Regions from separate parts of the Homo sapiens genome. Here all the other regions are linked to region 4. The links are contacts of gene promoters, found by promoter capture Hi-C in human tissues and cell types (Jung and others, 2019). All regions are on one chromosome and are shown on one strand. Each heading gives the region's core, a stretch centred on a gene start or on the middle of the fragment in contact. The rest is flanking DNA. Distances are from core to core; before and after follow the strand shown. Region 1 overlaps ASTN2 (astrotactin 2). Region 2 overlaps ASTN2 (astrotactin 2). Region 3 overlaps ASTN2 (astrotactin 2). Region 4 holds the start of ASTN2 (astrotactin 2). Region 5 overlaps ASTN2 (astrotactin 2). Region 6 overlaps ASTN2 (astrotactin 2). Region 7 overlaps ASTN2 (astrotactin 2).

The links. Contacts are between HindIII fragments. The study calls those that stand out against the background at their distance.
Region 1: a fragment that was not itself captured here is called in contact with the fragment with the promoter of ASTN2 in region 4 in 4 of the 25 tissues and cell types used here (H1 embryonic stem cells, dorsolateral prefrontal cortex, hippocampus and 1 more).
Region 2: a fragment that was not itself captured here is called in contact with the fragment with the promoter of ASTN2 in region 4 in 1 of the 25 tissues and cell types used here (dorsolateral prefrontal cortex).
Region 3: a contact is called between a fragment that was not itself captured here and the fragment with the promoter of ASTN2 in region 4, in 1 of the 25 tissues and cell types used here (thymus).
Region 5: a contact is called between a fragment that was not itself captured here and the fragment with the promoter of ASTN2 in region 4, in 6 of the 25 tissues and cell types used here (H1 embryonic stem cells, bladder, dorsolateral prefrontal cortex and 3 more).
Region 6: a contact is called between a fragment that was not itself captured here and the fragment with the promoter of ASTN2 in region 4, in 5 of the 25 tissues and cell types used here (dorsolateral prefrontal cortex, liver, mesendoderm cells and 2 more).
Region 7: a contact is called between a fragment that was not itself captured here and the fragment with the promoter of ASTN2 in region 4, in 2 of the 25 tissues and cell types used here (H1 embryonic stem cells and dorsolateral prefrontal cortex).

The regions. Positions count from the first base shown.
Region 1 is chr9:117,098,291-117,101,364 of GRCh38, reverse strand. The region is part of intron 4 of ASTN2 (astrotactin 2); the gene reads left to right. Among named protein-coding and RNA genes, the nearest start is that of SNORA70C, 81 kb to the left of the region's middle. The HindIII fragment of the contact is 4,992 bases long and covers 1-3,074 here.
Region 2 is chr9:117,047,474-117,050,692 of GRCh38, reverse strand. The region is part of intron 5 of ASTN2 (astrotactin 2); the gene reads left to right. Among named protein-coding and RNA genes, the nearest start is that of SNORA70C, 130 kb to the left of the region's middle. The HindIII fragment of the contact is 3,251 bases long and covers 1-2,935 here.
Region 3 is chr9:117,031,053-117,034,235 of GRCh38, reverse strand. All of the region lies in intron 6 of ASTN2 (astrotactin 2), which reads left to right. Among named protein-coding and RNA genes, the nearest start is that of SNORA70C, 150 kb to the left of the region's middle. The HindIII fragment of the contact is 4,155 bases long and covers 1-3,183 here.
Region 4 is chr9:117,413,453-117,416,813 of GRCh38, reverse strand. ASTN2 (astrotactin 2) reads left to right here and starts at 1,757. Exons shown (of 23, transcript NM_001365068.1): 1 at 1,757-2,317. The coding sequence starts at 1,876. The HindIII fragment of the contact is 9,596 bases long and covers 1-3,361 here.
Region 5 is chr9:117,126,314-117,129,330 of GRCh38, reverse strand. The region is part of intron 4 of ASTN2 (astrotactin 2); the gene reads left to right. Among named protein-coding and RNA genes, the nearest start is that of SNORA70C, 53 kb to the left of the region's middle. The HindIII fragment of the contact is 3,091 bases long and covers 176-3,017 here.
Region 6 is chr9:116,951,074-116,954,041 of GRCh38, reverse strand. All of the region lies in intron 10 of ASTN2 (astrotactin 2), which reads left to right. Among named protein-coding and RNA genes, the nearest start is that of SNORA70C, 230 kb to the left of the region's middle. The HindIII fragment of the contact is 6,986 bases long and covers 1-2,968 here.
Region 7 is chr9:116,912,053-116,915,131 of GRCh38, reverse strand. All of the region lies in intron 10 of ASTN2 (astrotactin 2), which reads left to right. Among named protein-coding and RNA genes, the nearest start is that of TRIM32, 230 kb to the right of the region's middle. The HindIII fragment of the contact is 6,421 bases long and covers 1-3,079 here.

The DNA of each region.
Region 1 (3,074 bases), core at 239-2,738, 320 kb after region 4:
TGCATTTTATTGCACTAAATCACCAATTTTATATTAAAATGCTAACAGAGGGGGCCCTTTTCTAGCCATCTGAATCACCTCCAAGTCAGACTGTAATTGGCCTGTGGCCCCTTCAGATTATATGGATACTCAGAGGCTGTATGCCTTGGGTGGCTGCCACCTCCCCAGGATGTCACAGCAGGCAGGAGAGTCAGGGGGCACCTCAAACCAGCAGCACTTCCTCCCTTTCATTCTGTTAAACACAGACAAGCATCAAGTAATTGAGGAATGTGCCCTGACTCTCACTTCTTGGTCTTTGTGCAGAATGTTTACATGCAGCATACTCTTTTCCCAATAATAACCATTGAGCTGAGTTCTTGTACCCCTTTTAAAGATGAGATCAGAGAGATCAAATGCCCTGTCCAAGGCCATATGCTAATAAGTGAATCAAAGAACTAGAACTCATGTCTGACTCCAATAACTTAATTTATTTCTACTGAAGTCCATTACTTCCCTTGGCTCATGGATAAACAAATATAGAAACTAACTAGACTCCAAGTGCCTTGAGAGTAGGGACCATAGATACTGTTGTTTAACAGAATCCCAGCTGTGCCATTTTTTCATCCAGGTCAAAAATCCAAATTGTTTTTTAAGATTGAACATTTTAGTGGAGGTCGTGGCTTATTCATCTTCATCTTGTACTCAGATCCTTGCCCTTAATTTGCTCAGTAATATTTGTTGTACAAATATGTCTAGAACTGTGTTCTCCAATATGGTGAGCACCTGAAATGTGGCTTGTCTGTATTGTGATGTGCTGTAAGCACAAAATGCATACTGGGTTTTGAAGACTTATGAAAAATATATAAAATACTTCGGTAATAACTTTATGTTAATTTCATGTTAACATGATAATATTTTAATATACTGAGTGAAATGCAACATATTCTGGAAATTCATTTGAACTTTTATGTTTACCCTTTTAATGGGGCTACTGAAACATTTAAAATGGCATATGTGGTTTGCATTATATTTCTATTGAATCTGGTTTATAGACATTGTTTCTGAGCCTCAGTTTTCACTCTGAACACATGGTACTTTAGTACTTACAAGAAGGGAATAAAGGTCAGAAGAGTTTGGAAATGGAGGCTTGACCAGAAGGGAAAGCCTTTATGGAAACCCTTATGGTAGTTATAGGGGTGTGGTCACTGTGCCTGGACATGTGGAAAGATGGGAGAGTCACAAAGATCTTGCTAAGCCTGATTAGAGTTCCTACAAGAAAACAGGTCCAGGTGTTGGAGTCAATTAAGAGAACTGCTAATCCTTAGTGGTCAACATATCAAGCATTTGCCAGCCCTCTACATCCATATGCATGCATGTGTGTGTGCACACATAGGCACAGACACACACACTTTCCCTGGTTGTATTAGGTACGAAGCAAGCTTTGCAGGTAGACAGACCAAATTTCAATCCCATTTCTCCCACTTACTACCTCGTATCACCTCTCTGAGACAGTTATTCATCTATGAAACCAAAACTCATGATACAGTCCTTATAGGGATGGCTGTGGATATTAAACAAAGTATTTGTTCATATTTTATTATAAACCAGCATTGTAAAAAAGGAATAGATTTACCCGCCACTGTCTGAATTTGAATCGTGGTTCTGCTACTTACAAGCTGTGACCCTGGACAAAATATTTAATTTCTACGTGCCTTCATTTTCTCACCAACTGAAATGGGAATAAATGTAGTAACCTATCTCCTAGGGTTCTTGTAAATATGAAATGAGTCAACCCATGTAAAGGCTTTAGAATAGTGCCTGGAAGAGATACTGCACTATGCAAGTGTTCGCTTTTCTTACATTAGAATTTCCTGGTGACTTTTCTGTCACTCTGTCTATCTTGCTCCAGTAGGGAAAGAATAAAGTCTGATTCCTGTAAGCCAGATTTGTTCACCATGGTAGGGCCATAACAGGTCATGTGTTTAGGATGGGAGGGAAGATAAAGTGGAGATTGGAAGGAAGGAAGGGAGTGAGAATTTTGCTGAAATGTTTCAAAGTGTGGCTATGGCATCCAAGGGGCTGTGGGAAGAGTCTTGGGTGGCCTCCTAACAGGGATAGACCCTCCTTTTTGCTCTGTGGCTCCAGACATAGCAGAGAGTATGGCAGATGTTTTCTGAACATAAGAGAATGACTTTATCAGATGCCTTCATTTTTTCTTTGGCCAAGAATTATGTATAGATGAACAAAAGTCTTCCTCCCTCCTTTTTTTTTTTTTTTTGGAGACGGAGTCTCGCTCTGTCACCCAGGCTGGAGTGTAGTGGCTTGATCTCGGCTCACTGCAACCTCCACCTCCTGGGTTCAAGCAATTCTCCTGCCTCAGCCTCCAAGTAGCTGGGATTACACGTACATGCTGCCACACCCGGCTAATTTTTTGTATTTTAGTAGAGACGGGGTTTCACCGTGTTGCCCAGGCTGGTCTCGAACTCCTGAACTCAGGCAATCTGCCCGCCTTGGCCTCCCAAAGTGCTGGGATTACAGGTGTGAGCCATCATGCCCAGCCCTTCTCCCTTCTTTTCTTTGTTCTTTCTTCTTCTTTTTTTTTTTTTTAACAGTAAAATATTTTAATGGCAATTTTAAAAGCCCTACTGGCTTCTGGGGACCTCTGCTCTCCAGTCACTTCCAAAATCTCCATGAGGTCCCTGCCAATTCCACTTCAAAGCTAAGCCTTTAAATGGAGAACTGCATCTGGCAGAATCTGAAATCTGAAGTCTCCTGATGTCTCCAGGCCCTGCTTTTAGTTGCTGGGGATTGGGGAAGTGTGCACTAAGGCTCCGGGACAGACCTTGCCTGATGACACATTTTGGGACAAAGATCAAATGTTGTCATCCTTTGTACTTTCCCACTCATTAGAACATACCGTCTTAAGGAAGGATGGGTGTGGGGAGGCAGATATTAATCTTTCAATTTTACAGAGCCTTAAACTGAGAGGCAGCATCATAAGTGGCTAGAAATTTGAGCTTGGGCATTAGTTCCACCTGGTTTCGAAGTCCACCTTCACTCATTATTAGCAAATCATTTTTCTTTTCTGAGCATCA
Region 2 (3,219 bases), core at 61-2,560, 370 kb after region 4:
CAGCTGAGGAAGCTTTTAAAGAACTTTGAGTATCAATAGGTCTCGGTTCATATTCTAGCTCTGTTCATATTCTAGCTCTGTTCCTTACTAGTCAATTAAACCCTTTGATCTTCCATTTCCCCCAATGTCAAGTAAGGACAGCTTTGCCTGGTGCTTACGGTGGGCTTTTGGGATAAAGGAAGTTCTGTAGGTAAAGGAACATTGTCATGGAAGCTGGGAGCAGGGGAGGAAGCAGGAGTAGGGGAATAACGTTGGTTGTGTATTCAGTATTTACTAGGCCATCACAGGAGGCCTAGTAAATACTAAATACACAATCAATGTTATTCTCCTGCTCCTATTTTCACAAAGTGTGGGCCAAAGTCCACTGACATCTTCCAAGATAATGGAACAGGGACTTTCAAAGGAGCTAGAAATGAACCTTTCATGGAAATGGGAGGTGACTGGTCCTGATCGTCCTTGGTAGCCATGGAAACTGTGGCTGCTCTTTTGCTCTGTTCCTCAGCACTCACTGCTTGGCCTTAGCTCTTCTTTGCCACCCTCCAATTCATCGGTGGTGTGGGCTGAATGTGGTGGTGCATCTAAACAGCCTGTAGACTAACAGGGCTAATATGGGTATCAGACAACAGTATCTTAAAAATTAACATTTTGGGTAAGTCAGCACCAGTCGATTGATAGTCACCTATGAATCAGAAACCCCCCACCACCTTTCCTTTCTCCTTCTTTCTCATTTATTTCTGAGCCATTCTAGAGCTTTAGATCTTTGAATTATCTTCTCTACTATTTCTCATCTACACACTGCAATTTAATCTATTGAGTACAGCATCTTTTTCCTTCCACTAATGCATTTCGTCAGCCTGCTAAATATACGTTGAATAGTCTTTAGCCTCCTGAACTGATCTGTTGTGCCTACCTTTTTCATTCTTGCATGTATTCTCTGTGACTTTAAAATTCTATTTTCTTCTAACACTTGGGAAGAAGAAGGATACAGACATTGGTTTCAGACCAGACTGACCATGAAAACCTTCCTCTTCCTCTTCCCAGTGACCAGTTAAATCTGGTTTTCCTATTTGTAAATGAAGGGTAACCCCTGCCTTACAAGGTAGTTGAGAAGTTTAAATAGGATAATGTACATACAATCTTTAACACAGTGCCTGGCATAAGGGCACCAGTTGATTATTGGGCTCTGCTAATATTATTTACAACCTTTGTATAAATTATTAAACTAGATCGTTTTTTCCGTACCTTGTTCCACAGAATGGTGGTTCTGCAATGTCTTAATACTTTAGGGAAACATTCGGCTGAATCCTGTTAAACAGAATGTAATGCAAAGACTTTTAGGGATTTTAATACCAGATATATACTTGGGTGCTTTAAGAGGGACATGCAGAATATAGCATGTCTCAAAATTTTGTGAACATAGAAATATTTTCTTTTCAAGATACATCTGGTTTTGTGGGAAATACTACACTAGCTCTTTGAGGCATTTGGATACATTTATAAGAGCAATAACCATCCTGTGCAACATGGTGAAACTCTGCCTCTACTAAAAATATAAAAATTAACTGTGCACAGTGGCGCATGCCTATAATCCCAGCTACTCAGGAGGCTGAGGGAGGAGAATCACTTGAGCCTGGGAGGTAGAGGTTGCAGTGTGCTGAGATTGCACCATTGCACTCCACTCCAGCCAGGGCAACAGAGCAAGACTCCGTCTCAAAAAAAAAAAAAAAAAGCAATGGATGAAGAATCAGAGCGCACAGATTCTATTTCTGTTTTCATATCCAGCTAGTGGGACTTAGGCTGCACACTAGCAACATAGTGACATGAAAAGATCACTCAGCTGTGTGTCAGGAGACATGGCTTATAGGCCCATTATTCTTCTGTTGTTTGAACATGAGTTCACCTTTAAGACTGTCACTTCTCATTTGTCTATTGGGGATAACAGCAATGCCAACTACATAGGATTTTGAAGAGGTAATGAGATATTTGAGAATAATCTGTAACCTAATAAAAGCTAAAATAATACGGTACCATCTCTATCATCTTCATCTCTAACACCATTGTCAACACCTTGTAGTGACCTTTGCACTTGCAAGCCCAGCTACCTGCAGTTGCCACAGAGAAATTCAAATAGCCAGCCGTTTGTAGCCCCATTCCATGTCAGCTGCCAGTGGCTTTAACTTCACCAGGCAGCCACAATCTAGGCCTGCACTATAGAAACGGTCTTTGTCCCAGGACCAGAGCTAGCCAAAGGTGTTCCCCAGTGGCTTTGTCAATAATCATTTGGCTCCAAGTAGCACAGTGAGCTGCTTCAGGCCCATAGTATTTTCTGGGGCTGAGAAAGGAGGAGCGACAGCCCTTCTCATTTTCTTCCATCATTTTAAACTTTGTCCTTGTGATGGGGAGAGGTTCTCTTGAAGACATGTGGTCGGTATCAGGTGGGACAATGAGGCCACCACAAATTCACCTAGAGTCATCACAGGTCCACAGGGCAAGCTAAAGTCGGATAGCAGCTCAGCAGTTAAATTTGTTGCTTCTGCTCTGCCCAGGCTACATCTAGCAGGTTGATAGAGATATTGTGAAGGATGATGGTTAAGAGCTTGGACCCTGACATCAAATGGTTTTTCATTTCAGCCCTATTACCTTTAAGCTGCATGTTCTTTGGCAAGTGATGGCCTCAGTTTCCTCATAGCGAAAAATGTGAGTGATAGTAGAAACAATATCATGAAGTTTCTGTAAAGATTAGATGAGATACTGCATGCAAAAATTTAGTTCTATTGTCTGGCACCTAAGTTAGTGGCTATGTTACTAGTGATAGTGGTAGTGATGATGATGATAATAATAATAACAATTATTATTATGGCATCCTTTACTAAGAAAGTAATCTTAAGCAAAACAAATCTATACAAAGTACAATAAAAGGACTCAAAATATGACTTTAGAGAAACAAAATAAAGTTATTAGTGTTTGGTTTGAAGAAAGAAAGCTCAAGGCAACCTAATTTCCACCTTTAACAAAATAGCTGCCCTGGGAAGGAGATATTAAATATATCCTATTTAATTTGGACAGCAGAAGTTCACTCATAGAGTGAGATTCAAAGGCTGTTTAGACATTAAACTATCTGAGAATAGAACTGATGCTTAGTAGGGGTTGAGTTTTCTTTCTCTGGAAGTATGAAAATAAGAGTGGATGAACACTTGCCTAGATCTTATTAAGGACAAA
Region 3 (3,183 bases), core at 59-2,558, 380 kb after region 4:
CAATGTAAGTGGGCATATATTCACCCAATGTGGTCAGCCAATAGAAGAGTCTGCTTTTAAAGGAACAAGCTATCTAGGTGAAGTAGGTGAGATGGTTCCACTCCAGTGTAGGCAGGTAACAGTCCACCTAGAATTCCCTGTTTTGTTCCAAGACTTGTTATACATTGGAAGTTATTCAAGTGAGAGGATTTGGCAGCCACAAGATTGAAAAAGCACTGTAGATACCTAATGACCTCTTAAGGAAAGGATGGAAGACATTCATTCAATAACAAGCGTTGAAGGAACCTAGACAGGAAGGGAACCTACTATTATTGAGCATGTCTGTTATCTATTGAGTAGCACACAAAGCACTTTACACAGGGTTCTTCCTTCAGTTCTCATAGCAAAATTGAGAGTCTGGATTTAGTATCCTCATTTTGCGTACGTGAAAAGTGGGGCTCAGGGATGCTAGGTGGTTTTACGAGATTAACACATAGATGACGTGGTATGAAAACTTAAGCCTACCTGAGCCCCCAGTCTAAGGTTCTTCTATGCTCTAAGCTTCCAGAGAGGAGACCAGGATAATTATTATTTATTTTGAAGAGAGCAGGCTAGTTCTGGAAGTCCTAAGGAAGCAAAACTAGACAGATATATGGGTAATGAGTATGGTCAGGGATGGGAGAAGATGAAGCCTTGGTTTGGAAACGTCTTCCTCTACTGTTGACTGTGTGACTTGTGCTAGTTACTTAAACATTTTAAGCTTCAGTTACATTATCTATAAATTGGGGATAATAGCAGTACTTATAAAGTTATTGCTAAGAATAAGTGAAATAATGCTCATAAAGCTTTTAGCTCAATACCTAAGACCTAGTAATGGTTCAATAAATTATATAAATGTTAGAAGTAGTAATAATATTTTCTTAATATTGGAAGGGGGTCATTGCAGGGTAATGAGTTCCCCATCATAGAAAATCTCCTGAGAATAGATGACCACATTTTTACAAAGCTGTAGAAGAGAGGGGAAGAGAAGCGTTTGGTTTGAATCATGATATTTTGTTTTGGAGCCATATTATCAAACTGTAAATTTTAAAACCACTTAATTTTTTAGGACTTTTAGAATATGTTTCTTTATTCCTTAGTACTTCACACAGAGTGTCACCAATTCTTTGCGTAGGCTCAGAAATGGGTGAAAACAAGGGATGTCTGTGTCTCTTGAATATGTTACTTAGCTAAACTCACAGACACACACAATTTTATATATTGATATGATTGTTGCATCAAAATACCTATGCTAAAATGTCTTTTTATTCAGGTTATTTTAAATGGTTAACATCATCTTTTAGGTTGAACTAAGTTGATATCCAAGTCTTCTCTGTTCCCTATGACTGAGATATTTGGGATCTGAGTATGGCTTCTTAGCCCATGAAATCATCAAGTATAAATGCCCACACATTGGGATGGCATGGTTCACTAATATGCCACACATGTAGCTGGTTTTGAGCATAAAATTGTGAATAATAACACTTGTCTACATTTATTTGCTCTCATCCCTACTTGATGTCCTCCATCCCAGAAGAGTGAGCTAATGCATGACTTTGTGCTGTTAGAGAGGAAAGAGGTCCATAATTGGCTTCAGAACTAGTTTGCAGTGATTTGAATACATGGAAGGAGTATTTTCAATTCTTAGAAGGGAAAATGACACCACATTGTAAGTGGATCCTTAGCCACAAACTGCCAAGCACTTTATTTAAAACGAGTAGTTCCTTGGACATCCTGCTCTATGAAATCATCCCAGGCTTTGTTTTAAAATGCTCCATGTTGACTGCAGATCTTTGAATACTGTGGAACATGCTTATGGGTGGAAGTTCTGTACAATATGGCTTCTGTCTTTTTCTTTGTTAACTCATTTGCACAGCCTTGATGCTGTTTAGACAAATAGACTGTCCTACCTGGTATCTGCCTCTCTATATACCTTTGCTTGTACATTCCTCTCCATCATATATTTCCATATATGGCAGTCTCACCCATCTCTAAGGCATAACTTAGTTTGCTCCCTCCTCTAGAAAACCTTCTTCAATGAATCCTTAGAGACAAATAATATCACCTCTCATGAACATTACCTAGAATTATATTTGTGCCTTTCTAATGACTTCAGTCTAACTCCTATTACTGTTACTGTTACTGTTACATATGTGTCATTGAGACAACTGCCACAGTCCTGAAAACTGGCCTCCTGCTTTAAGTCTAGGCTCTCTCCTATCTTTTATTAACAATGCAAACAGAGCCATCTTTTACAATGAAAATATCAAAACATCGCATACATGTATTACATACGTGTCATACTTTCCATAAATCTGTTTATTGTCTTCTTTTTTACTTGTTTTGAAGACTGAACTTCTTATTGTGGCCTTTGCATCCTTGCAAGGTCAGGCCCCTGCCCGCCTTTCCAGTCTTACGTCACACCACCTCTCCATATATTGGCTCTTAAATTTCTCTGTTGCCTCCTGCCTCAGGCCCTTTGCACATGGTGTTTTCTTTGCCTGAAAACTTCTTCCCACATCTCTAGTTTCTCTCATTTACCCTAGGGTAATGCCTCTGTTAGCTCCCTTATGAATCATTCTCCTTGAGCCCTGCTTTTTTTCTGTATTATATTTATTTCAATGTATAATTTTAAATTTATCTAGTTAATGTTGTTCTCTCTTGCTAGGTTTCAAGTTCCATAAGGATAGAGATTACATTTGTTTTGCACATTATGTTCAGAACCTTGGACAGGATCCAAAACATACTTGATGCCCGCTAAAAGGCTTTCACTGAATTTTTTTGTAAAGTTAATTCAATGGTTAGACTTAAATTTTTTCAAGGGCAAGGACCACAGCTTATTCATGTTCTAACTTATTGTGATGCCTAACAGGGATTCTGACTCAGTAGGCATATAAGAAATTGTGTCTGTAAAAAACGAAGTAAGGGAGGACCGACGGTGGACCCAGAAGCCCTAAGAAGATACATCAAAAAGAATGACAGTGCAGGAGGTCTGAGGCTGCCTCTTCTTCTATGATTGACTTCACTCCCCAAGGATGTTGCTCCCATCCCCAAAAATAAACTCCAATCAAATTCACACACCCCTCCTCAACACCAAAATGAAACAAGCTTCATCCCAGAGCCCAGAAAGAGGGGAAATATAAATTGGGCTGAGATTCAGAACCC
Region 4 (3,361 bases), core at 508-3,007:
GGAGAAGTATACCTTACAAACCTCACAGGGAAGTAGATCCAACTGTGCTTATGCAGATTTACCTTTTACAGCATCTTTGATGGGTGGGGTTTTCCAAGGTCACTGAGGACAGTGTAATTTAAGGGAAACAGTCAAGGCTTGAAGCCTACTGTTCAAACCTCAGCTCTTCAGCTCATTTGCTATACGACCTTGGAAAATCCCTTCACCTCCCTGACCACCTGATCTCAGTTTCCTCACATGGAAAATGGGAATCATAATATCCATCTTTTTGGATTATGGTCATGTAAAAAAGCTAACATACGTACATGTCTAGCATTTGGAGAATGCTTTAAACACATTAAGTCCAAGGTCGCAAAACAGCTTTTGCTTTTTTCCTTATTTTCAGTGCTCTGCCTTTATCCAACGTTATTAAAAAATATATGATGAGAGAGGAGAAAAGCAATTTATATGAAGGGTTAAAGATAGAAAAGGGGAATGAGACAGAAGAGGGAAGAGCTAAGAGAAAAGTGAATGCATAGAGACAGCACAAAAGGTGCAGATGGGTAAGCTAGACAGAGATGAGAAGTTGCTCACAAATTATAGGAAAGAAGCATTTGTAAGATTAAAGTCAAGATGAGAAGGAAGGAAATGAATGGAGAGATGAAACAGAAAACAGAGACAGGGAAGATGAAGAAAAGTAGGGGAGTGGGGAAGGGGCTGCACGGCACTTGACCCATGCAGAGGTGTCCGCTCCCTGGAGGGTCTCAGGTATGTGGGTCAGAGACAGAGTCAGCCCAAGACCAAAGGGTGCTGAATCTGAGGACCTAGCTCAACTTGAGTCTAGAAAGACTGCAGGTGAAGAATTGGTGAGCACTCCCGTTCTCTGGGACTTGGGCAGAGGATCTAAAAGACCCGGGAGCCAAGGACAGACAGAATAGTAGGTCTCTACCTCACACCCTTTTCAGGAATTTCACACAGAGAGCAGAAGCAGCCAAGTAGAGCTGCTCCAAGCTGGGAGCAGGGATCCAAAATAAAAAAGCGTGAGTGGGCTGGCTTGCAGGGCGGCAGCTAGGGGGCCAGAACAGCCCGGCTTCAGTCAGTTGTGGGGTCGGCGTTAGACGGTGGAGTTCGACGCCCCTCTGTCCATTAGCAATTAGTGCTAGCACAAGGCCTGGATGGAGGGGAGAGGAAGGTTTGCGGGCAGTGGGAGAATGAATGCAGGAGTTGTGGCCAAGTGGGTGGGAAGGGGGCTCTGAGGCTACAGGAAGTTATTTCAGAGACTAGAAAAGGGTAGGAGATTGGAGAAAGGACTTGTTCTTGGGCCTGAGGGGAGACAAAGTTAAGTCTTGGCTATCCAGGGGGCTCCCTATCCCCAAGAAGGCGGGGCCTTGAGCAAGGCTGGGCCAAGGCGCGCCCCCAGGTGCAGCCTCTGGGTTGAGCCGAAGGTGGGGTGAAGCCAGGAGAACTGGGTTGAGTCAGGGGGGCTTGGGGGGGCCCGAGGGGGCCCTAAGTATTAGGAATTTGGGGAGTTTAGGGAGGGGTGTTGTGGCTAAAGAATGCTGTGAGGGCGGAATTGGGGGATCTTGGGAAAGGGGAGGGAGCCACTGGGACTTGCACGAGGCCGGGCGGAGCCTCCGAAACGCTCGGGGTCTGCGGGGGGAGCCGGAGATCGGGGACGGGCGGCTGGGCCCCGGGAGGCGGCGCGGGGGGGCGGTCCAGGGCCGATCGGGAGGCGGAGCCCGGAGCTGGGGGCTGCTGGCGAGCGGCTCTCTCCGCTCCTTAGCTCGGGCGTCCTGGTTCGCTTCGGCGTCCGCCGTCTCCGCAGCTGCCTCCTCTTCCTCCTTCGCCACCGCCGCCACCGCCGCCGCCGCCCGCAGCACCGCAGCCCCTCCCGCCATGGCCGCCGCCGGCGCCCGGCTCAGCCCCGGCCCCGGCTCGGGGCTCCGGGGGCGGCCGAGGCTCTGCTTCCACCCGGGGCCGCCGCCACTGCTGCCGCTGCTGCTGCTGTTCCTGCTCCTGCTGCCGCCGCCGCCGCTGCTGGCCGGCGCCACCGCCGCTGCCTCGCGGGAGCCCGACAGCCCGTGCCGGCTGAAGACCGTCACGGTGTCCACACTGCCCGCCCTGCGGGAGAGCGACATCGGCTGGAGCGGCGCCCGCGCCGGGGCCGGGGCTGGGACCGGGGCCGGAGCCGCCGCCGCCGCCGCGTCCCCGGGCTCTCCTGGCTCTGCCGGCACCGCCGCCGAGTCGCGCCTCCTGCTCTTTGTGCGTAACGAGCTGCCGGGGCGCATCGCGGTGCAGGACGACCTGGACAACACCGAGCTGCCCTTCTTCACCCTGGGTAAGGCTGGGCGCCGGCACGCGCTAGATCCCAAGGAACCCCGAGCCCCTGCGTCATGCCGGACGGGTGGGGGCGCCCTGGGGATCCCTGCCCGGGGCTGCCCCGAGTGGGGTTGGCAGAGGGTAGAGGAGGGGCCCAGAGGTCGCACAGGTGGTTGGAAACGAGCATGTGGGAGGAGGTCCTGGAGAGCGCGCGGCGGGAGCCTGGGGGCGTGCCAACCCTCCCGCAGTGGGAACCTGCCCCTCTGCCTCTCAGTCCCGACCTGGAGCTCTGCTTGATCCATCCCGGAAGCCGGAGACCCCATTCACTGAAGGTGCTCTGGCTAGGGGCCGGAGCATCCCAGATCCTAAGCCAGTTTCAGGTCGAGCCTCCCACTTCTCCGGGTACCGTCACTGGCCACCCGCCGTCACCGCCCCCTCGCTCTCGCCTCGGAGTTGCGGGTTCTGCCCTTCCAGATGGATTTTCATGAGAGTAGGAATGGAGTAGTTCCGTGTGGAATCGCTCAACCCGCAAAAGCGTGGCTTCCGCATGGGCTGAGTGACCTTGGCCAAGTCGCTTCCCTTCTCTGAGCCTCAGTTCTGGCCATCTGTGAAATAGGGCTGGAGAGACTTGAGTGGTTGCTGAGAACTGGGATTCCGACTCCGAGGTCTCCACGTTTAGAGCCTCCCTCTACCCCCGTTACCGCCTTCCCTTTCTACCCACCTCCAGGCAGAGAGCCGGTTTGTCCTTGCAGCTCACTCCCTGGGCTAATAATAATTACTTAAAGGCAAGAAAAAGGAGAGGAGAGGAGATGGGTGTGGGTGGGGGGCTCCAACGGAAAAGTTAATCAGAAAAGTTCGCCAGCAGCTTGCTGCCTGCTGGTTCCCTGCGCGAATCCCGGAGGAGTCGGCCCTTCAGTGGAGCTGTGGGAAGCGCAGCTGATTTCCCACCCGGGTAATTGATAGCTTAATTATCTCGGAGAGCGTTTACAAAAATGTTGTTCCCCTTAGCTCTCCCGCGCTCGCTGCTTGCTCGCTCTCCCCTCCCCTCTTGGGGGCGCGGGGC
Region 5 (3,017 bases), core at 472-2,971, 290 kb after region 4:
GGGAGAAGCAATTCATGTGCAGATTTTATGTTTTTGTTTGTTTTTTGAGGAACGGAGGGAGGAAGTGGGTATGGCAGAGGTTGTGGTTAAGGAGAACATTTCTAGAAAAATGGTCACTGTCAATGCAAAGAAGTGGTATTTGCCTTCAATCCATATATCTCATATTTCTGCTTCAAATTGAAATTACCTTTACAAAAATTATGACAATGAAAGAAATCTGACCTAACCAATTCCATGTTGCTTATAACCTTCAAGCTGCCTGATACGTTTTGGCTCTGTGTGCCCACCCAAATATCATCTTGAATTGTACTCCCGTGATTTCCACATGTTGTAGGAAGGACCTGGTGGGAGATAAATGAATCATGGGGGCAGTTTCCCCCATACTGTTCTCATGGGAGCGAATAAGTCTCATGAGATCTGATAGTTTTATCAGGGGTTTCCGCTTTTGCATCTTCCTCATTCTCTCTTTGCCTGCTGCCATCCATGTAAGATGGGACTTGCTCCTCCTTGCCTTCCGCCATGATTGTGAGGCTTCTACACCAACTGGAACTGTAAGTTCAATTAAACCTCTTTCTTTTGTAAATTGCCCAGTCTCAGGTATGTCTTTATCAGCAGTCTGAAAATGGACTAATATGCTGCCCTTGTTCAACCCTAGGCATAGGCCAAGCTAACTATGGAGGAGTTTAGTTTATAGTTTAACTTTGAAACAAAGATGGCATCAACCCCTTTCTGATACAAACCCACTCCTTGCCTGGGGATCAGACCTCCTTTGTAAAATTAACACATTAGCCACAAGATTAGAAATTATGGCTCTGGTGTCATGCAGTCAGAGGCCACAAGATTCCTAACCTCCCCAATTGCCCTTATAGATAACATCGCTGTCATAAAACCTAAGATTAGTGTTTGAAGTATTTTTAAGACCTTGATTTCTTTTTTTTTTTTTTTTTTTTTTTTTTTTTGAGACAGTGTCTCACTCTGTCACCAGGCTGGAGTGCAGTGATGGGATCTGGCCCACTGCAACCTCCACCTCCCGGGTTCAAGCAATTCTCCTGCCTCAGCCTCCTGAGTAGCTGGGACTACAGGCACACACCAGCATGCCCAGCTATTTTTTGTACTTTTAGTAGAGACAGGGTTTCACCATGTTGGCCAGAATGTCAGACCCTGATTTCTGATGGACTAACTGTTGCCACACAGACCAGTAAACTGGCTTATCTGGTCTTGTAGCCCCCACCCAGGAACTGACTCAGTGCAAGAAGACAGCTTTCACTCCCTATGATTTCTTCCCTGACCAAACCAATCCGTGTTTCTTATTCCCTAACTCCCTGTTCACCAAACTATCTTTAAAAAACCCGGCCGGGAGCGGTGGCTCACGCCTGTAATCCCAGCACTTTGGGAGGCCGAGGCGGGTGGATCACGAGGTCAGGAGATGGAGACCATCCTGGCTAAAACAGTGAAACCCCATCTCTACTAAAAATACAAAAAATTAGGTGGGCGTGGTGGCGGGCACGTGTAGTCCCAGATACTGGGGAGGCTGAAGCAGGAGAATGGCGTGAACCCGGGAGGTGGAGCTTGCAGTGAGCCAAGATCGTGCCACTGCACTCCAGCCTGGGCAACAGAGTGAGACTCTGTCTCAAAAAAAAAAAAAAAAAAAAAAAAAACCAAAACAAAAAAAAAACCCTAACTTCTGAAATCACAGGGAGACTGTAATTTGAGTAATGAAACCCCAGTCTTCCATTTAGCTGGCTGTGCAATAATTAAACTCTCTATTGTAAAAATCTGCTGTTCTCAGTGCATTAGCTTTTCTAGGCAATGGACAAGATGAACCCATTGGGCCATTACAAAACCATGGAAATAAAGCTTTTGTCAGGGTATTTTCCGTAGAGAGAAAGAGCCTTCTCCAAATTACCTATGTGTGATCTAGTTATAAAGATTTGCAGGGAGCAGCTGTAACACCTGACCCCTTCCTGTATCTGTATCAGCCTTGCTACCTGCCGAGGGTGTTAGCCGAGAAACGCTGGTGAGCTCCCTTTCAGTGCAGTGTTGCGGAGCAACCTTCACAGATTGTAACATGGAGAAGGGTCCCAAAGAAATCATCTTGCGTTCAGGCAGAACTACATAGAAATAACTCCACAAGATCTAGAGAATTCAAGAGTAGGTAATTATACCAATAACTACAGCAACCCAGGATGGCTAAGATCTCTGATAGACTCTTTGGCCTCATTCTTAGATCAGCATCTGTGGTCCCAGCAGAGCTATACAAGTCCAAGTCAGAGCAATTATCCTGCCGTAGGATGATACCTTTCCAAACTGCTCTTTAGGGCTGCTGTGACTAATTCCCATTTCCCCAATTCTAGCCCTGCCTATTCCTTCTGTCTAAGCTTAACTACCTACCCAGGGTCTCCAACCTCACTTTCATTATTCTTTCAGCTGAATGTCTACTCAGTGTAAGACACTATGCTCAGCCCTGAGACTGCAATGGAAATCTAGACATATGAGGTCCTCACTTCTATGTAACTCAAGATTTGGAGAAAGAAGCAGACAGTCAATCAATCACTCACTCAAGCATTCAAGTATAATAATTACAGATTATTAAACGTTCACTGGAGTAAATTACTTTGGTGCTAACCATTCTAGTTGTCCACCAAGTCTGCAGTGAAACCAGTTAGGCTTCCTACTCCTTTGCCTTGGCTGGAAATACTCTCTTTAATTCCTCCAACAAAGATGAAACTATAGGAGGAATGAATCTCAAAGCTAGTGTCATGGTTTTGTTTATTCTACTTTCTAATTTGGGACATATATCTGATAGGAAACCACAATTATTGGCCATTTCTTTTGTGCTCTTTACTCTTTTAAGAGTAATGAGTTTCACATGTATTACTGTAACAACCTTTCTCTAACCCTTACTTTGTAAAAGAAATGGATGTTCAGAGACATGAAGTAAGTTGCCCAAACTTGCACAGCCAGGAGCTTGGAGGTAAATTTAGACCTGACTGCTTCCAGTTCTCCTGTACCTTCTG
Region 6 (2,968 bases), core at 251-2,750, 460 kb after region 4:
AAGCCCTTAAAAAAAGATAAGAAAACCAAGCCCTGTGTAACCCGCCCAAGCTTACATGTCCATACATACATGGACAGGTCAAGGGTGTGAACTAGCACAAGGTTCTCTGTCTCTGAGCCCATTGTGTGACCCCTTCTACTCCACTGGACTTGATGGACAGATGACTGATGGATACAGATTGAGCTACAGCTCTGCCACTAATGAGCTAAATGACCTTGGACAAGTCTCTTATCTGCTCTAAGTTTCAGTTTTTCTATCCAAGAATGTGAGCAACTAACCTGATCACACTGTTGAGGCTTTAAACCATCAAGGATCAAGTGTTGAGCACATAGTGCAGGGCTTTGCACTCAGGAGATGCTCAATACAGGGAACCCATCTTTTTTGTTGTTGTTAAAAAAACAAAAAATCAAATATTCTTTAGGCAGCAGCTACCCTAGAGGACAATGAAACCTGTCAGCATTCTTGTTGGACAGCTGCCTGGTCTCTGTAATTCGGGTCCTAACCAGGAGCTAGAAAATTAACTTGGAAACTGAGGATGCAAAAATGAGTGTCTCATTCTGGGTTCCTCTGGGTCTCTCTGCCTTCCTCTGAGCAGATGCTGGGCTCCAGCAACACCTGGTACCTGCAGAACTCTCAGGAAATTGGCTTGGCTAGAATGTCTTAATAGCCTGCTCTCTAGCCAAAACAATTTGCAGTGGGAAAAGCAAGGGTTTAGAAGTCAAACAGATACAGATTCAATTGTAACTATAACACAACCTCTCTTTGTGGCTTTGGGCACCCCACTTAACCTTGTTAGGCCTCAGTTTCCTTATCAGTAAAATGTGATAATTACACCTTATTTTCAGTTAAGCCAAAGAATGATTCACTGCTGCCAAACAATCTCAGCTAATAAATGCTGTTATTTGCCTCAGTGGGTGGGGGAGTTAAAATCACAAACTGTCCTTTCCATAGCAGACATTTGCAGATCTATTGGGTCGGAGATGGAGAACTGGGAGTCTCCTCCACCCCTTCCTTTTATAATAGAGAAGCTAAGGAACAGAAATGACATGGCCTGGCCCAAGGTCGCACTGTGGGACAATAAGACGGGCCACCTGGATCCCTGTCAGAGGGTCTTTCACATTTTGTTAGGCTACATGTCAACAGCCCAGGTCAGCACAAATGTCCCTTGTTTTCAGAGTCACCGGTGGCTGAGCAGTAAGTAATTGGGCCCCTCCTCAAAGGCTGTAATCAAAGGCAGCCTTGAGCTTGGAGGCAGCTCCAACGGCGATTGCTCGGCTAGCTGAGGAAGAGGCTTGAGGCCAATATCAGCGGCCCTGGGCTCCTGACAGCAGGTGTGGATGATGAATGGGCAGCTTAACATGATGGAGCAAATTGATCATTTCATCACTGACCACAACTTATTCATTTCTGCAAAGACGGCAATTCATTACCCTGCATGTCACGCTGCCCATGTCATTGCCAGAGATAAAAGCCTGAGGCCTCACAGCCTGTGCCTCTCATCACATCTCACCTCTTCTTAAAGGGAGAGAAAGAATGCGGAAATTGAGAGCCAGATGCTCAAGGCTGCTCCAGGGCCCTTATTCTTGCCAGATCCTGGAGGCCATTTCTTCTTCACCAGGAAATGAACAGGAATGAACCCCAAGAGCTTCTAAGCCAATCAACAATAGCAAATGCATTGCATCTTTGAGGCCAGCCTTATACTCTCTGGAGCATAAGGCCGAGAAGGATTCTGTGGCTGCATGCGAGCCCAATAGGAATGAATGCCAGAATTGATTAGTCATGTCTATGGTAGGTCTAGAGTAAGTAGTCAGACATACCCCATGCATTACTATTCATAAAGTCGTGGTGGTGGTTGGGCTATTTTCTGCAACTCTCAAATCATGTCAAGTGCTCACTAGCATTAAGAATAAACTAAAAGGCAGTTACAAATACAGTAATGCAGTTATAATCAAGTAATGGAAAAGCTTACATATTATTGTGATTTTAGTCAATACAGTTGCTCTCAGCTATAGTGGCACAACCCACAGGCTTTGACCACATGAGTTATTGGGTAAGTCCCAAGAAATGTAACAACAAAAATAGTCACATTACTCAAGTTACTCTGATTTTTAGTATTTGAAACTATGGGGTTAGGTAAGTTGTCAGAAATGTAGTGCTAATAATAGTCTAATTACTCAAGTTTCAAAATATTTTGTCTTTTGGAGGGATTTTTTAAAATGCAATGGATATGACCTTAGAAGTAAAATAACATCTCCCACTTGTGTTTGGGGAATGTTACCTTGAGTGGAAGAGAGAAAAGTGAGATCATAGATAACTTGCTGGTGATTGCATGCTTACAGATCCCCTACTGATCTTAACCATGGTGCCTCCCATAGCTTCTGCCACCAAATACCAATACCACCCTCTCCTACTCATCTCTAGAGTGTGGCTTGCTTCCTATCTAAGGGAAATCTCTCTGCCTGACCCTGATCTCATGCACTTCAGTTTATTGAAGGACCTTGTTCTACTGATCATACCTTCCCTCTCCTTTATCTTTGTAGACTCTATTCACAGTCTATGCCAAAACCAAACCTAACTGACTTAACTATAAATGGGAACCAACTGTTCCACATGATTGGTGATGATGCTGTGTGAGAGATGGGCTCATACATGGCAGTATCTACAACCACAGATCTTTTTTTTTTTTTTTTTTTTTTTTTTTTTTGAGACAGAGTTTCACTCTTGTTGCCCAGGCTGGAGTGCAGTGGCGTGATCTTGGCTCACTGCAACCTCTGCCTCCCAGGTTCAAGCTGTTCTCCTGCCTCAGCCTCCCAAGTAGCTGGGATTACAGGCGTGCGCCACCATGCCAAGCTAATTTTGTATTTTTAGTAGAGACAGGGTTTCTCCATGTTGGTCAGGGTGGTCTCAAACTCCAGACCTCAGGTGATCCACCCACCTCAGCCTCCCAAAGTGCTGGGGCTACAGGCGT
Region 7 (3,079 bases), core at 385-2,884, 500 kb after region 4:
CCCCAGGGCAAGAGAGGGCAGTGTGTTCTGTCAAAATGAGGCATCCCTAAGAAAAGTTTGCAAAGAACATCTCACATTTTGGGAGAAGGGGCTGTGGAGCTGCCCACTAATCCTGGGCTCCTCCTGTGTGAATTTGAAGGCTGAAGTATCCTAAGGCAGCATCTGGAGGTTGAATACCAGGCAGACCTGAGGCCAGAGCTCAGCTTCAGCCTTTACTGGTTTTATGACTTTGAGCTGGTGATTGCTTCTCACAGAGCCTTAGTTAGCTCATCTACAAAATGGGGATCCCAGGATCCACTTTGAGGTGCAGTGGGAGGGATTAAATTAGCCAGCGAACATTAAACCTCTCCAGAGTGCTCTGCCTTAGGAGGTGCCATTACTGCTGTGGCAGCTGCCAGTGACATCTGGCATAATTCTTGGTCCTGCCACCCAGGGTTGGGTGGCATAAATTCCTATCCTCTTCCCTATCTGAGCCTCAGATGTGAAGATCTGTACAGTGGGCTTCTCAGGACCACCTCATGAAGACTGAGATTGAGATTGTAAAAAAAAATATATATAAATAATAATAATAATAATAATAATAAAACACTTTACAGTGTCTGGCACAGAGTAGGACCTCAGCAAAGGGTCACTCTATTATTTTACAAATGCTGTTATTATTATTATTACTCAGTCAACAAGGACTGGGATATGCTCAGCTTAGAATTGACTTACATGACCAAAAGACTCAGGAATTAGATGCATTCTCCTGAAGTTCAGAGCTGTTGTCCTTCAAGCCACTGAAGTTCTATTTAGACCATTTATTCTATTCCCATTTTGCAGATGAAGCACTGGGGCCCAGAAAAGAGAAGTGTCTTTCTCATGTTCACATAGCTAGTCAGTAACAGCCTGCACTGAACCTGATTGCAGCCTTTGCTCTGCCATGCCACAGCAACTCTCCTTCAGCTTCTTTCCTGGTATTCAAGAACCTCGTCCCCATAGCACGAGTTCTTCTAGCCATATCCTCTGCTGCTTCCCTAACAAGACCAGCTCAGCTTCTCTACTTACTATTACTTAAAACATTTCCTATTTCCAGGCTCCACACCTCTGCATATGCTGTTCTCTCTATCTAGAATGCCTACTCCACTCCTTACCTAAGGAAACTATCATCAATCTGTTCCTTTTCTTGTCTTTGAGGCTCTGGAGCTAGAAACATACTCACAGAGGAATACCATAAGTGAATGTGAATTTTCTGATTCTTCCAAAGTCATGTGCCACCCCATAATTTCCATGAGGACTGAACAGAAAGGAACTTGGTCCATGTGGCTCCACTCACCTTCTCACACATGCCTGAGAGTTAGGAGCAGTATAGATTACTTTAATGACAGTATTACTTCCAACTGCGTCTCTCCCATCTGTTCTTCCCCAATTACGAATGCAGAAACCCAGCATGTGTCTCCATTCTGGCAGTAGAGAATGAAATATAAGTGCTATAAAAGGGAGTATATTCTTTGAACAATACAGTTGGCACCTGTGAAGCTTGCCTTGCATTTCAGATCCTTCTGCATCTTCAAGAGGGAGCTGGAGCCTCCTTTTAGAAAAGGCTGCAGCATGCCCAAATCATCCTTCCCCTTCCCTCAAACCCAGGGGTACTAAGAAATGACAAAGCCAGCGGGGTTTCATGGGAATCAGGAAAGAGCCTGGAGTTCTTGTGGAAATGGCTCAAGCCAAGGTGATGAGAAAACAGAATTAATAAGGGAGTCTATTTGCCACATCAAATGCACTAAGTGGGGGTTGAGGCTGAGAGAGATTAGAAAAAGCAGCCTCCATGGATATAAGCAGAATTTTGAAATCCAGAGGTATGTCAGGGAAAGTAAAAGGAGTGTGTTCTCATTCTTATTTTGCATATGAGAAACCAAAGGCTCAGAAATGTTAAGTTACCTGGATAAGGCCAGGTGTGGTTGCTCATGCCTGTAGTTCCAGCAGTTTGGGAGGCTGAAGTGGGTGGATCACTTGAGGTCAGGAGTTCAAAACCAGCCTGCCCAATATGGCGAAACTCTGTTTCTACTAAAGATGCAAAAATTAGCCATGTGTCGTGGCACATGCCAGGAGTCCCAGCTACCTGGGAGGCTGAGGCAGGAGAATCACTTAAACCCAGGAGGCAGAGGTTGCCGTGAGCCGAGCCGAGATCACACCACTGCACTCCAGCCTGGGCGACAGAGTGAGACTCCATCTCAAAATAATAATAATAATTACCTGGATGAGATCTCACAGCAAGGAAGAAGGAAGTGCAGGCCTGAGTTCAAACCTAATACAGTATGAAGTTGATGTTCTTAACCGCCATGGTACCCCCACTTAGAGTGAACCCACCTCACGAGCCCCAGCCACAGATGAATTGACATCCCTGCCTGCATACCCATGCAAAGCAAAACCCAAGCTTGCATCTCTTACCTCTGCCACAGCAATAAACAGGATTAGATGCAGAAAAGAAAATAACGAAAGGGCAGCCGAGTCCCAGATTTCAGAAAACAAATCATTCTCCGGATGAAATACACTTCAGGGGGAAGAAATCCCTAAATGTTTTATTAAAGGAATTCAACAACTACAAATATTAACAGCAAGGCTATGAATTATTTAAAATTCAACTACCTAAACCAGCCTATAAATTAAACATGAGAAGTTCTTGTCAGAAAGAGAGAGGCTGGGTGAGCTCCCACTTTCTTAGCACTGAGAATGAAGAAGGCGGACCTTGTGTTTTCTGAGCACCTACTGGGTGCCAACTGCTTTGCTTTTCTCACTTGCCAGTTGGAATCTGACTCTAAGCCTAGGAAAGAGATATTATGGGTTGCATGGTACAGTTGCAAGAAGCCAAAAGTTTGAGACAGAAAGTGGTTTCTCCACACTCACAGTTAAGTAATAGGGGAACTAAGGTTCAGCCAATGTTTGCATGGATTCAAAGCAATCTCTCTCCACTGTGCCAGGCTGCCTTGCAGCTGGAGGACACATGTAGGTGTAAAAGCAGAAAGCAGAGACCTTAGACACAGTCACATTGAATAGAGGAGAATAACCTGCAGATTCCAGTGCCCTGACCCATCACAGA